Regions from separate parts of the Homo sapiens genome. Here region 2 is linked to region 1. The links are contacts of gene promoters, found by promoter capture Hi-C in human tissues and cell types (Jung and others, 2019). All regions are on one chromosome and are shown on one strand. The core of a region is centred on a gene start or on the middle of the fragment in contact, and the rest is flanking DNA. Distances in the headings are between cores, read along the strand shown. Region 1 holds the start of PLSCR4 (phospholipid scramblase 4). Region 2 has its middle 19 kb from the start of PLSCR5-AS1.

Region 1 (6,978 bases), core at 4,152-6,651:
GCTAAGATATAAACATTTCCTCTTTAAATTTTCTACAATAAATGTATAATAAATTATATAAACTGAGTTTTTAAAATAATTTTTAAAACCTGACAATGTACTCTCTTGTAGTGAATCTGTAACTAAAAAGACCTGCATGTTCATCAAAGAGGAAATATTATGCACACCTTTCCAAGTACAATCCTCTTTATAGACTTTAAGCCAAATTTCTTGGCTCCTATGGTGGACTGTGTTAATTACTTTTATGGGTTTCTTGGCTATAGGGAACTGGATAGTTCAGTGGGCTCAATATGAGTGGATTAAAGTCCAATGACTGAAGGATTCAGTCATTTCTGTAGACATCTTGTAAACTTAGTAAGTTTCTGTCACATGGGCTGAAATTAGAGAAACGAATTCCAGGCTTGCACAAAAGATAAACCTAGGTCCATGTTGATAAAATATGCTGCAGCAGGAATGTCCCATAGATACACAGTATCTTCATTATAATTACATGTTAACATATATGTATTTAATTGTATCTTTGCATAAAATCAATTCTAGAAGAAACTTAGGGAGTGATTAATGTTCAACAAATTACAAGGGCAAAACCTAAGATTTTTATTGTGTTGTTTTTATAACCTATATCAATATATTTATTATTTTATTAACATCATGACTCCTTCAAAAGAAAAAGTGTATGGTAGAATATTTCATTCTTTTTAGCAAGTGTGAAGGATCTTGGAGGTTAGCTATTTGGCTTTAATATAAAATAAAAGATAAGATTAAATGAAAGCAAATTGATAGCCACAGTCCATACATAACCTTTATTAAATATATTAATTTAGTTCAAATTGTTTAAAGAGAATATCAGGTGTCTCCTTTTTAGCTTTCAAAAGGGAAATGTTTTTGTTATTTAGAGTAGAAAAATATCAGAACAATATTCTCATGATGTTTATATAAGACATTAAGGAAACATTACCATGCCAACTATGATTACCAAGAACGCCTCATTGTGTCATTTTACAGCTAGTCTTTTAGTATTTAAAATTGTAGTAAAACAAGATGTCATGTTGCATACAGTTAAGTCACTTTGATAAGAAACTTTACATTTATGAAAACAGACTTTTAAAAAACAGATGTTATGTGCAAACAAACACAAATATAATTCAAGGAGTCGGCAGTGCATACATTTACACAATACATTTATACAAAAAAATCCCACCTACTCCAATTCCCATTTCCCATTTGAAAAGGCAACCACAGACATTAGATTTTTTTTCCTCCAATAGATTTTCTAAGCATATATAAACTAATACACACAGTTTTTATAAAATGGCAATCATCTATATACTTTTCTGTGTCTTTTTCTTTTCATTTATTAAAATGTCTTGATGTTAATTACATTTCAGTCCATATAACCTCATTCTTTTTAATGGCTGCAACATAATGTATTTAACTGGCTGCCTAATGACAACAAGTTAAATCGTTTCCAAATTTAGGCTATTACCAAAAATGCTGAAAAAAATATTTTCTTCCTGTGGATCTGTGCATTAAATTATTGGAAGCAGAACTGATGGATCAAAGTTTTGTACATTTTTAAAGATACTATCAAACTGCACTCTAAAGAATTTGAATCAATTTAGACCCCAGACAAAAAGTTACATTCCTAATACAGTATTTTATCAACATTTTTGTAGTAGTCAATCTGATATATAAAAAAAAAAAATTGGTTTTATTTTCCATATATCTCATAATGAGGAGGCTGAGCCACTTTTATTATTTGTTTGAAAGCAATTTGCAACTCTATTTCTGTGAACTGCCTGTTTGTCATTTGTTCATTTTTGTTAGCTTTTCATTTGTCTTCTTTATATGAAAGGTATTAAAATTTTATATTAAAATTATCTTTTCAAAACTTATCATTTGTCTTCACTGCATTTTTGTCATGCAGTTTTATTTTTGAGGCAGGGTCTCTTTCTGTTGCCCATGCTGGAGTGCAGTGGCATGATAATGGCTCACTGCAGCCTTGACCTCCCAGGCTCAATCAATTGTCCTACCTCAGCCTCCTGAGCAGCTGGCACTACAGGTGGGTGCCACCATGCCTGGCTAATTTTTAAATTTTTTTAGAGGTGGGGTATCGCCATGTTTCCCAGGCTGCTCTCAAACTCCTGGGCTAAAACAATCTGCCCACCCCTGCCTCTCAAAGTACTGTGATAACGGGCGTGAGCTACCGCCACCCAGCCTTACCATGCAATTAAAAACAATTTTTTTCCAACTTTAGATGTTTTTCTTTTTAAGGACTAGCATATCTATCTCTTTCATCCTGAAGAATGAGTACTATAAAAATGAATTTTAGCACAATGCTGGTGAACATATGAGTATGAACATTGCTGTATTTTTTGTTTATAAAAGTTAACTGGTTGTGAAATCCCTCAAGCAAAATTCTTCACTGCTGTTCTTGCAATAAACATCATAAACATCAATATTAAGGAAGGGGATTTTAAAGGAAGCAGCTGAAAGAGGACACTTATAAAAGAAAAAAAATGAGACAATATGAAAGGTTTTGTGAAATATATTTCTTCTGTAGTAAATGACAGCTAATATATTCAAGAAGGCAATGTTCTGTATAAATTACTATCACTATCAATTTTTCCTTATACACACGCATACATTATAGAAATGTGTAAAACAACATCACTACTCATAATAATATAATTCGGCTGTGTGTAAAACATCACTACTCACAATATAATTCAGCCTATATTCCAAATTATTTACAAAAATATAATTACTACACTACACACACACAGACACACACACACACACACAGTGTTTCAACTTGTTGTTTCATTTTGTGTTTTAACTTTATGTTTTGGACATATTTCCAAGTTAGAACATTTAGAGCTACAATGTTTTAAACTGTATATTATTCCACCTTTGAATATACCATACATTATGTAACCAATTCCCAATCAATGGCTACAGAGCTGTATCCATGTTTTCTACATTGTAAACAATCCTACTTTAAACATCTTTGACAGAGATTTTTATTTGTACACTTGGGAGCATGTTTTGCTGGATAAATTCCAGTTAAGTAAATGAACATTTGTAAATCTGAACAGCTTTAACCCTAAAACAGCTTCACCAATTCACATTTCCACTAAAAGTTTGTAAAATTATATTTTCCTCACTGCATTTTCAACAACACCTAAAGTTATCAGACTTTCAAAATTTGTAAAATTAATGCAAAAATTGATGTCTTACTTCATATATGTTTTGGATAATTAGTGTGGCTAACAGTATTCACTCTGCTTATTATTTGCATTTCTTTTGCTTTGAGTTGACTCTTTTTATCCTTAACTGGGTCATTGATTTTGAAGGTCATTAATAAGATTTCTAGGTATATTAGCAAAATTATCTTTTTTTTTCTATTAACAATGTCCGCAGTTTGTATCTTTTTTGGGGGATGCAAATGTTAATAAAAATCATGTCCCTAAATGGGTCTAGGTTTTTGTATTATGCTTAGAAATGCTTTTCCCACATGCAATGTGCACAAATATCTATTCAGGCTTTCTTTTTCCCTTTTTAGGCTGCATATGTTTAGATTTAAACTAGTAAGCCATCTAGACTACATTTGTCTATTAACAGTGAGGAAAAGTTCCAGTTTTATTATTAGGTTTCCCAAACAAATTCCTGCTTGTCCAAGTACATTCAATTAAATGTTATTTCTTCTTCCCACCCAGTGATTTAAAATGTATGCTTATCAAATGCCAGCTTTCCTTTTATTCTTCCATGTCTCTTCAGTTTCATTTACACATCTGGTAGTAGGTCTACTGCACTGTCTTTTAATCACCACAGTTTTGTAACACCTTTTATTATATGAAGAAGTCTCCACTATATATATGTGTGTATGTATAATATTAAATGTTAAAATCATATATAATATATAAAATAAGACATAATTATATATTTTGTATTTTATTATTTGTAATATATTATACATAACGTTAATATGTTTGTTCTTCCACATGAGCTAAACAGTACAGTTAAAAACAGTAACAAAAATATTCAGTTAGGATTCTACTTATACGTTGTTTTAGAGAAATGATATCTTTACCTAGAAGAATGTTATGTATTTTATTGGATTCTCATACATACCTTTTTATATCTTCTTAAAAATAATTTCTCAATTGTGTGTTATTTCATGCCAAACTGAATTTTACTTTATTTTACTGTATTATCTAGTTTATGTATAAACATCAACTGACTTCTATAAATTAAGTATGATGCAATTGGAAACTTTGATAAATTCACTTATGCTTCCCATCAAATTTCAGTGTTTCCTATGGACATTAAGGTATACACTCACATCATGCATAAAGTGATAATATGTTCCCCTACCTGTTGTCACTCGCCCATAGAATTCACAACCATGTCACAGAGTGTAATGATTAGCATTCTTGTCTTTTTCAAATTTAATGGAAATGCTGCTAGTATTTCACAGCTATCCATGAGAGCAGATAGACAGATGGAGGTTGTGTTCTATTACTATTACAGGAGAATGCAATTTAAATTAGGCAATCTATTCCCCTTTAAGCAGTATCAAGTTTGGTGCATTATATCTTCACAAGTACTTATTTTGGTGGCTCCATTCTAAATGCAGTATAAAATTAAAAACTAAATTGTAGATCCTAAGAGAAGATAAGGCCACAAAATAAAATCCTAAGTCTTTAAATATGAACGTTTTTAAAAACAAATCAAGCACAGCCCCAAATCGCCCCAGTTTGCCAGAATTGGAAATAAGAGAGAGGGATTCTCTCCTGTCACCGCCTCCACTCGCTGAGCAATTAAAAAGTTACTATAAATAGCGTTTTTACCTGCGAGTGGCCTGGCCTGAGTCCGTGAGAGCCGCGCCGTAGAAACGCCAGAGACCCATGAGAAACCCAATCAAGCGAGACCTGTCACGCAGAGCGAAACGAAAGGGCCGCCCCCGTGAAGTGCAGCCAGGACCCCCATCCCTGGGCAGGAAACTGCTCGCTCCCAAACCCTCTGCGTCTGCAGTGCAGACGCGCGCCCGACACCACGGAACTTCTGCAACCACCTGAGGATGCGACGCGAGCGCAGTGTCCGGGAACTGCTAGCGCAGGACGCCGCGCAACCTCCGCGCCTGCCCGCAGGCACCGCGGCCTCGGGCCTCCCCTGACGACGCCCTCGGCCCCGCAGCCCGGGCGCCCGCGCCACCCTGTCCTGCTCTGCGCCCGCCTGTCCAGCCCCACTCACCGCCTGCCCCGCAGAATGCTGGGCACCGGGGACGCCAGACGCCGGGTCTAGTTGTACTGGCAGAGGAAAGGGAAAGGAAAGGAGGCAGGGAAGGGAGACGGAGAGGATTTTTCAAGTTATAAACAAAGTAAGCGCGCGGAAGGGAGGGCTAGGCGCGGGTTCTGGGGGCGGGTCCGGCACGCCTGGACCCTCCTTCCCCGCGCGCGGCTTCCCCGTCTCGGACCCCGCCCCGCGCTGGGAGAGCCGCCAGCCCGGGGGAGCGTCTTCCTGGAAGAGGTGGGGCACCCTGAAGTCCGCTGAAACCTAAAAGCCGAGGGGGAGGAAGAAATGAAGAAAATAAGTTGTCACTACTCTAATAAGAGGTGAAAGAAAAGATAAAAGCCAGCCCACGGTCACTTCCAATCAGAGGGGCAGGTTGCAGGGCCTGGGAAAGGGAGCTTTGTTCATAGATTACTGCGCCTAGAGAGAAAATGAAGAAACCCCTCTTTCTCAAGAGCCTTTTTTATTTTTTTATTTTTATTTTTGATACGGAGTCTCACTCTGTCGCCCAGGCTGGAGTGCAGTGGCGCGATCTCGGCTCACTGCAAGCTCCGCCTCCCAGGTTCAGGCCATTCTCCTGCCTCAGCCTCCCTAGCAGCTGGGACTACAGGCGCCCGCCACCACGCCCGGCTAATTTTTTGTATTTTTTACTAGAGACGGGGTTTCACCGTGTTAGCCAGGATGGTTTCGATCTCCTGACCTCGTGATCCGCCCGCCTCGGCCTCCAAAAGTGCTGGGATTACAGGCGTGAGCCACTGCACCCGGCCTCAAGAGCCTTTTTGATTTGCATTTGCGCCCACCCCCAGGTCCTTGGCTTGGTGATTTAGCCTTGGCAATGCCGTGCTGGCTGGAAACACTTGGGCATAGGGCCCAGAAATTCTGTTTTCTTTTCCACAGAATTGGGGGAGGCCAATTTGATCTTGGAGGGAAGGCGGGAGAGACGCCAATAAAGGGGAAAGGGAGCAGGTTGCCCATGTTTTCTGACATTGGGAGAAAAATGCCATTTGCTTATTACTGTTAGGCACAAATATTTCTTTCAGACCAATGGGATTCAGTTCTGTGGTGGTGCTTGGAGAGAAGCACAATACACTGACAGGAAGTGGGAGAACTGAAGGTCCTCTGACCTTATAAAGAATCAGAACTGGACAGAAGTAAGCTTGATTAAGCTCTGAGGAGTACTTGGCAGAACCCCATTGTGGGAGAAGGTTGGAAAGGGGAAGGGATGTGGGAGTGGAGTTCTAGAATTTTATATTTTTCTTTGTATGTGTGTTATTTGTTAATATTCATGTGAGAATAGATTAAAAAATTCATACTGTTCTTCTCAGTAATAATTGCACAGAACATTTCTCAGATGCAGACATAGTGTTTTACTGAAAGCATAAAACAAAGAAACTGGTGGTGAAACTAAATTATAATAGCATATGTTACTGTTGGGAGCAAGCCCCCCAAAATCTGGCCATAAACTGGCCCCAAGACTGGCCATAAACAAAATCTCTGCAGCACTGTAACATGTTCATAATGGCCCTAATGCCCAAGCTGGAAGGTTGTGGGTTTACGGGAGTGAGGGTGAGGAACACCTGGCCCGCTCAGGGCGAAAACCGCTTAAAGGCATTGTTAAGCCACAAACAATGAGCATGAGCGGTCTGTGTCTTAAGGGCGTGTTCCTGCTGCAGTTAATCCGGC
Region 2 (7,738 bases), core at 72-2,571, 320 kb after region 1:
CAATTCTTGATTTCCATGTACCTGCAGGCCCAACACTGCGTGTAAGCCACCAAGACTTGGGGCTTGCACCCTCTGAAGCAACGGCCTGAGCTGTACGTTGGCCCCTTTTAGCCACAGCTGGGATGCAGGGAACCAAGTCCTGAGACTGCATAAAGCAGCAAGGCCCTGGCCCGGCCTATGGAAACCATTTCTTCATCCTAAGTCTCCTAGTTTGTAATGGGAAGGGCTGCCGTGAAGGCCTTTGTACTGCCCTGTAGACATTTTTCCCATTGTCTTGGTGATTAACATTTGGCTGCTTGTTATGTATGAGAATTTCTGCAGCTGGCTTGAATTTCTCCTCAGAAAATGGGTTTTCTATCACATTGTCAGGCTGCAAATGTTCTGAACTTTCATGATCTGCTTCTTTTTTAAACATAAGTTTCAATTCCAAACCATATCTTTGTGAGTGCATAAAACCAAATGCTTTTAACAGTACGCAAGTCACCTCTTTAACACTTTGCTGCTTAGAAATTTCTTCTACCAGATGGCCTAAATCATTTCTCTCAAGTTCAAAGTTCCACAGATCTCTAGGGCGGGGGCAAGATGCCACCTGTCTCTTTGCTAAAACATAGAGAGTCACCTTTGCTCCAGTTCCAACAAGTTTCTCATTTCCTTCTGAGGCCACATCAGCCTGGACCTTATTGCCCATATCACTATCATCATTTTGGTCAAAGCCATTCAACAAGTCTCTAGGAGGTTCCAAACTTTCCCACATTTTCGTGTCTTCTTTGGAGTCCTCCAAACTGTTCCAATCCTTGCCTGTTAACCAGTTCCAAAGTCACTTCCACATTTTTGGGTATTTTTACAGCAGCACCCCACTACCCTGTACCAATTTACTTATCAGTCTATTCTGATGCTGCTAATAAAGACATACCTTAGACTGGTATAAAGGAAATTTATAAAGGAAAGAGGTTTAATGGACTCACTGTTCCACATGACTGGGGAGGCCTCACAATCATGGCAGAAGATTAAAGAAGAGCAAAGGGACGTCTTACATGGTGGCAAGAAAGAGAGCTTGTGCAGGGGTACTTCTATTTATAAAACCATCAAATTTCATGAGACTTATTCACTACCAGAAGAACAGTATGAGGGAAACTGACCCCATTTTTCAATTATCTCCACCTGGCCCCACCCTTGACACATGAAAATTATTACAATTCAAGGTAAAATTTGGGTGGGGATACAGCCAAACCATTTCAATTATTGACACATGCAGTGCCATAGCTACCCCTATGTTATGGACATACATTTCTGTCAATTTATCTCGGTAAATGTTTGGCTTTCTAGGCAGTTGCCTGAGCTTGTAGTTACATAAAACTCCTGTTTGTTTGTTTGTTCATTTTACATGGAAAGTTGTAATGGATGATTGACATACTCTCCATTGTGAAATTTCAATGATGAATATTAGTCAAGTCTTTGATATTACAAGTATCTGCTTAAATTTTTCATCTGGTATACAATAAGACAATTGATGTTTATGGAAATTAATTATATCCAAAGCACAGTGTTCTTGACACCATGGGGAACAGACACAAAAATGGTTCTGAGTCAAATCCTGCCCAGAACGAGCTCACAGTCTAATAAAGAAAGTGCATCAGAGACAGAAAGTAAATAGCTGTAATACACAGTAGAATATGGTAATTTCATAATAAACTTACCATTACTTTTTTTTTTTGCATGAAGTGAATGGAGAAAGTAACACACACTGGACAAAAATTAGAGAACAATTTTGAGGCAGAAACTGTGTTGACATTAAAAGATAAAGTAAATCAGGCATGGTGGCTCATGCCTGTTCAGCACTTTGCGAGGCTTACTGAGAATCGGTTGAGGACAGGAGTTTGAGACCAGCCTGAGCAAGATACTGAGATCCCATTTCTACAAAAAAAAAAAAAAAAAAAAAAAAAAATTAGCAGGGTATACTGGCATGTGTCTATGGTCTCAGCTATTCAAGGAGGATGAGGTGGGAAGATTTCTTAAGCCCAGAATTCAGGGCTGCAATAAGCTGTAATCACACAACTGCCCTCCAGCATGGGTGACAGTGAGACCCTGCCTCAAAAATAAAAACAAAAACTAAATATGAAGAGCATTTGGGCAGGTAGAAAAATAGAAAAAAAATGTACTAAGGGAGAGGGAAAAGCATAAATGAATGCAGGAAAATCAGAGTGCCTCAAGCATAGTTAAATTTGAATAAAGTTAGTCAGGCTGAGATTTAAAATTAAGATGTAATTCTTTTTGCTTCAGAATTGAATTTGAAAGGTGTTATACTCGTATTTCAGCTTTTCAACATTGAGGTTTCACTGCCTCCCTCTCTTGTAGGCTAATACATGTGCAGGTTTGTTTTTGTTTTCTTGTTCTTGTAATTGTGCATAAATGTGTGAAGGGCAGGAATTAAAATCTGCATCCTGTGTGGTGATTTTTGATAATTCCTCAGCCCTCACAGCTGTTCAATTTGCAGTTTGAATAACGGAAACATTCCATCTTGCAAAGATATTTACATTTTGGTATTCTCTGGAAGCCACAACCAGGCATAAATACAGTGAGTGATGTGCCTATATAAACGTCTGTTGCATTCATAAATGCACATGGTGGACCCTATTTTGTGAGAACAAAGGGATAGAATTAAAAGTTGAATATCAAAAGTTGAAATATGTTTTACCTTCTACAATGAAAAAGAATCATAAGTCATACCAAAGAGTTTACTCTAAGAGTGACTCACTGTAAATCTTTTTATAATTATTGAATGCATGTTTTAAAAAATCCATTCTACTTTACTTATGGTATTTATTTTTGCAAAATCCATGTTATTTATAATACAAAGCAATACAATAATGTTTTTGTACATTCATCTCATGGAAAATTTGAATAGTTCATTCATAGTGGTTATTAAAGACTGTGGGTAAGAAGGAGATAACATTAATTTCCTATAGCTGGAAATGTTTTATAATATATATATATTTGATAGAATTTTTATTTGTTTCAGAAAAGTAATACTAATATCTAAGAAAACAGCTAGCAGTTTGTCAATTACTTGTGACAGTTTGTGAATCATTCATGTGGATTATACATTTACAATTTTTCTTTTCTTTCTTTTATAGTGTTATGAAATCAAACAAAAAATTAAGCTTCTGTTTTATTTTATTTTACCAATACACAAATCTGGCTCCTAATTCTTGTGCCAAAGTGCACAGTGACTGGTGCATTTATTAAGTATATGTAAGCAAAACAGTCAGCAACTGATTATACATTTGTTTATGTGAAATCTACATGTTTTGACTACTTTGTTTTGGTTAGTGATGTCTTCATTGCTGATATTTACCTTCTTTTGAGAATTAAAAGACATAATATTTAAAATGTGTGGATTATGCTTCTTATTAGAACTTATGTTAAAATATTTCCTGGAAAGGGAGTGAAAACTCTTAATTCAAATAGAAAATGAAAATTTTCTTTGGATTATTATATTAAATCATAGCCATTCCAGGAACGTAGTAATATGTTTATATTGCATGTGTAATTTACATTTCCTTTTATTTATTTTTCAGACCCTCTTGTCCTTCCTTAATGGATGTATTAATTTTTCAAATTCCTCAAAATACAGTAGAATTTTGTTTTTAAAATTTTTTTATGTTTTTTGATTTACATTTGTTTCTTCATTGGTCACCTATTTTTTGGTTGTCTTGGTTTTCTATGCTTCATATATGTAGTGGTTCTTAGTTCACTTATATTTAAGAATGGAAGACCGGTGACTCTTGTTATTTTTCTCTGTCGTATATGTCCATTTTTCTACTAGGTCTCTCCCACTAGTAGGACTAGGACTGGGAACCAAGGTAGAGACAGTGCTTATCACAATTAGGGTGAGCAGGTGAGGAGATCGCTCTTTGGATGCTAAAATGAGGAGAGTGCCATCCTTTGGCATGGGAAGCCATTCCAGAAACTTCAAAACCTTAGTTCTCCCTGTGCAATTAATTAAGATTCAATAAGAGTACTAATTTGGATTCCTGAAAGTATAATGCTGGGCTGCTTAGGCTTAGTGTTCATTGAGATAAGGAAGAGACTAGCAGTGAGGTTGGTGTGGGACACCTGACTAGCATATTTCATTATACAGACTTTCAATTAACTCTGTTTTGAGTTGTTCTTCGTACTCCCACCTTGCCTGGTATTGCTGTCTTTGAGCCAGGTAGCTCCCTGGGATAAGGACTTTTCTCCATCATAGACTGTTCACATGTGCACATTTAATCTGAATGATAGGCTCACATATTCCTCCATCTATCAGTGTTCCAATATGACTTGGAACTTCAGCCTAGAATTTATGAATATCTTTTTAAAAATATCCTGTGCTTGCTTTGGCAGCACATATACCAAAATTGGAACGATACAGAGAAGATTAGCATGGTCCCTGCACAAGGATGACACGAAAATTTGTGAGGTAAATTTGAGAGGTTGTTTTTTCTATCAGCATTTGCATTTGCTATAATTGTATTGTGGACTTAGGAGAGAGGAGAGACAAGTTATTTTCAGTGCGCCATTTTGAACTTTAAAAGGCACTTTCAGACACTTGGTTTTAAAAGATCAATCCAGGCCGGGCGCGGTGGCTTACGCCTGTAATCCCAGCACTTTGAGAGGCCTAGGAGGGTGGGTCATCAGGTCAGGAGATGGAGACCATCCTGGCCAACATGGTGAAACCCCATCTCTACTAAAATACAAAAAAAAAAAAAAAATACCCACAAAACAACAACAACAACAACAACAAAACAAAACTGTAGTCCCAGCAACTTGGGAGGCTGAGGCAGGAGAATCACTTGAACCCAGGAGGTGGAGGTTGCAGGGAGCTGAAATCACACCACTGCACTCCAGCCTGGTGTCTCAGGAGACTCCATCTCAAAAAAAAAGAAAAAAAAAAGATTAATCTAGCAATTATATGGAGAATGGACTGTAAGATGGAGAGGCTAGTGTCAGGGAGAATAAGCAGGCTTAGGAATAAGATAGTGACAGTTGTGAACACACAAGAAGAAATAATTTCTTCCCTTAGAATGACAGATACAATTTTAATGTAAATACAATATGTCAATATCCAGACTACATTCTGTTCTAAATTATTTTCTAATTCTATAATTAGGTTCTACATAATTAAAATTTTAACTGCTAACTTTAATAGATAAATTATATTTTCTAAAATCTAATATGGAACCATGACATCTGGCTTTGCATGCAACCCATATAGAAGAATTTATTGAAAGTTAGAAGCTCTAATTCTTTATCTAATTCTTCATTTTTCTTTGTGTTTTTTCTATAACTCCAGAAAAGTTATATCTGAGCTTAATCTTTTAACTCATGATCAGCATAATGTTCAGGCTTTTGATTCTGGAATAAGTACCTCACTCTTACCAGAATAACAGGTTTATTAAGCTGTTTTTATATTATTATTCTCTGGGCTTTGCTTATATTTCCAGTAATTCCTCTGCAGCAAAATAAAATAGTCCCTGCTTCATTAGGACCTGGCAGTGCTACCCTCTGCCAGATCATTGTGGTTGTTACTACCTTTTTATGTTAATTCCAAGTTATTTTTGTTACATTTTTAAAAGTCACCCATTTTATCTGCTTTCTTGCTTTTCATTTTGCCCAGATGCATTAAATTAGGACCCTCAACAAAATAAATTTAAACTGCCTTCTCCAAGGCCTAATATTCTAAGATCTAAATCCAAAGAAAATAACTAAATCCTATCTTTTTGTTAACTCGCTGTAGCATTTAGCCTGGTTAATCACTGCCCACTTTATAGAAATCTCTCCTCTCTTAATTTCTAAAGCATCAGACTTTTGTTTTTCCTGCTATTCTCCAGGTAATTTTGCTCTGTCCCTTGTGGACTCTTCTATTCTTTAAAGTATGGTGTCCCAAGGCTTTCTTCGACTTTTGACACTTATCTTTTCCTGCTATATAGCTTCAAGGTTTTATGTCACGCACTCATAGTTTAACTTTCTAAGTTCAAAACTTTAAGCTAGAGCATTCTCCTGGCAGGTACTTGCAAATTTTCTGGACTTTGATGTTCCATAAGCACCTCAAGACCAATACATTAAGAAATGAATTCCACCTTCTCAACTTCTCTTCTTACTGCACTTATGTGCCGTAAAATGAAATAGTAATGAAAGTATTATAGTATGCATTGATGGTAAATTAGGTACCAAGTAATTTCAGAGTATATATTTTGATGAAAGGACACATACATCCTCATAAATTACACACCAACAACGTACCCATAAAAAATAACAATTTAAAAAACTTTTAAAAAAGGACGAATATATCTTTCCCACCTTGAGTACTCATGTTGGATTGATGCCATATCAAATCAAATCACCACTGAATTTTGTGAAATAAAATACTAACAGTTGAGATTCAAATATGTTGGGTAGTGTGATAAATCCCAGGAAAAGTTATACATCTTTATGAGTTAGACATTCTGACAAATACATCAATGAAAAAATGAAATAGATATGTATCAGAGATGGGTTCATTTAGAAACAAGTGAAAAGAAAGGTTGACAGTAGTCATGTAGAAAAGAAAGACATTATTTTAACAAATTTTATTCTTAAGTTTTTTCCTATGAATTCAAATGTCACAAGTTTTTCCTTATGAGGCAAATCTGGATAATTGTTTTTAAAAATAGTTGTACTTTAACAATTGTGTGCGTATGAGCCGTGTGTGCTTATATGTATTTTTAGAGCTATATATTAAATGGGTTTATTGTTCAAAAAATTAAAAACACAGAATTATTTAAAGTAGTATTTAATTCCCCCCGTTATGCCTGACCCTACATTGAAATAATTACTGTCAATATTTTGGTATGTATTCTAGATTTTTAAATTTTAGAATGCCCTATTTAGTGTACATGTAATTATTTTTATTAACATTTTAAATGAATTATTTCATTTCATTCAATTTCATTTCAGAGTTCACGTGCTATGAAAAGGGTTTGTTTTTCCTTTACCAACAATATTACAGATACTTTTTATCCCTGCTTCCTTCCCTTCCACCCCCATCTGCTTGGCTACCAATCTATCTCATTTTTAAGAGGAGACAATTCCATTCTATGTTTGAACAATAATTTATTAGCTAAATCACCATTGGTGAACTTTAGTATGTCTTCATTTATTTTACTGAGAATGTTAAAACAATGTTGCAGCAAGCACCCTGACACATCTTTGGAAGCTTTTGTGATTACTTAGCAAATCTATAGGCAAAGTTGCTTACTCGACTAAAATATACATTTAAAATAAATGCACTTGAAGCAAATTTTCTCTCCTGATTAGTTATATCAATTTACCTTACTGCCAAGAGTATATACTTTCTTGAATCTTTGATAACAATGGATAATTCAGATTTTTGAATCTTCTATTCTGATTCATTTCTTTAATAGAGAATTTGAACATAATTTTATTTTTACTGGCTGTTAATACTTTCTTTTAGTGATTTTTATGTTCCTGTGCTTTTCCTATTTTCTTTCAGTATATTTGTCTCATATATTTGCAGAAGCTCTTTCCTCATTATGGATAAACACTGTGTCTTCTTTTATATTGTAAGCTTTTTTTCAATTGTCTTAGTTTTCATTTGCCTTAGTTGTTTTTTAATTTATTGCATAAGAAGAAAATGTTGAATTTTATTTCTCTATTTTTATATCTAGATTTATATTTGTGTGTGGCCTAAAATCAT

What was found. The method cuts DNA at HindIII sites, captures the fragments that hold promoters and counts their contacts. A contact is called where the count stands out against the background at its distance.
Region 2: a contact is called between a fragment that was not itself captured here and the fragment with the promoter of PLSCR4 in region 1, in 2 of the 25 tissues and cell types used here (mesenchymal stem cells and neural progenitor cells).

What each region holds. Positions count from the first base shown.
Region 1 is chr3:146,245,704-146,252,681 of GRCh38, forward strand. PLSCR4 (phospholipid scramblase 4) reads right to left here and starts at 5,402. Exons shown (of 9, transcript NM_020353.3): 1 at 5,257-5,402. The HindIII fragment of the contact is 8,514 bases long and covers 1-6,978 here.
Region 2 is chr3:146,567,107-146,574,844 of GRCh38, forward strand. It overlaps the pseudogene RNU6-428P. Among named protein-coding and RNA genes, the nearest start is that of PLSCR5-AS1, 19 kb to the right of the region's middle. The HindIII fragment of the contact is 7,756 bases long and covers 1-5,199 here.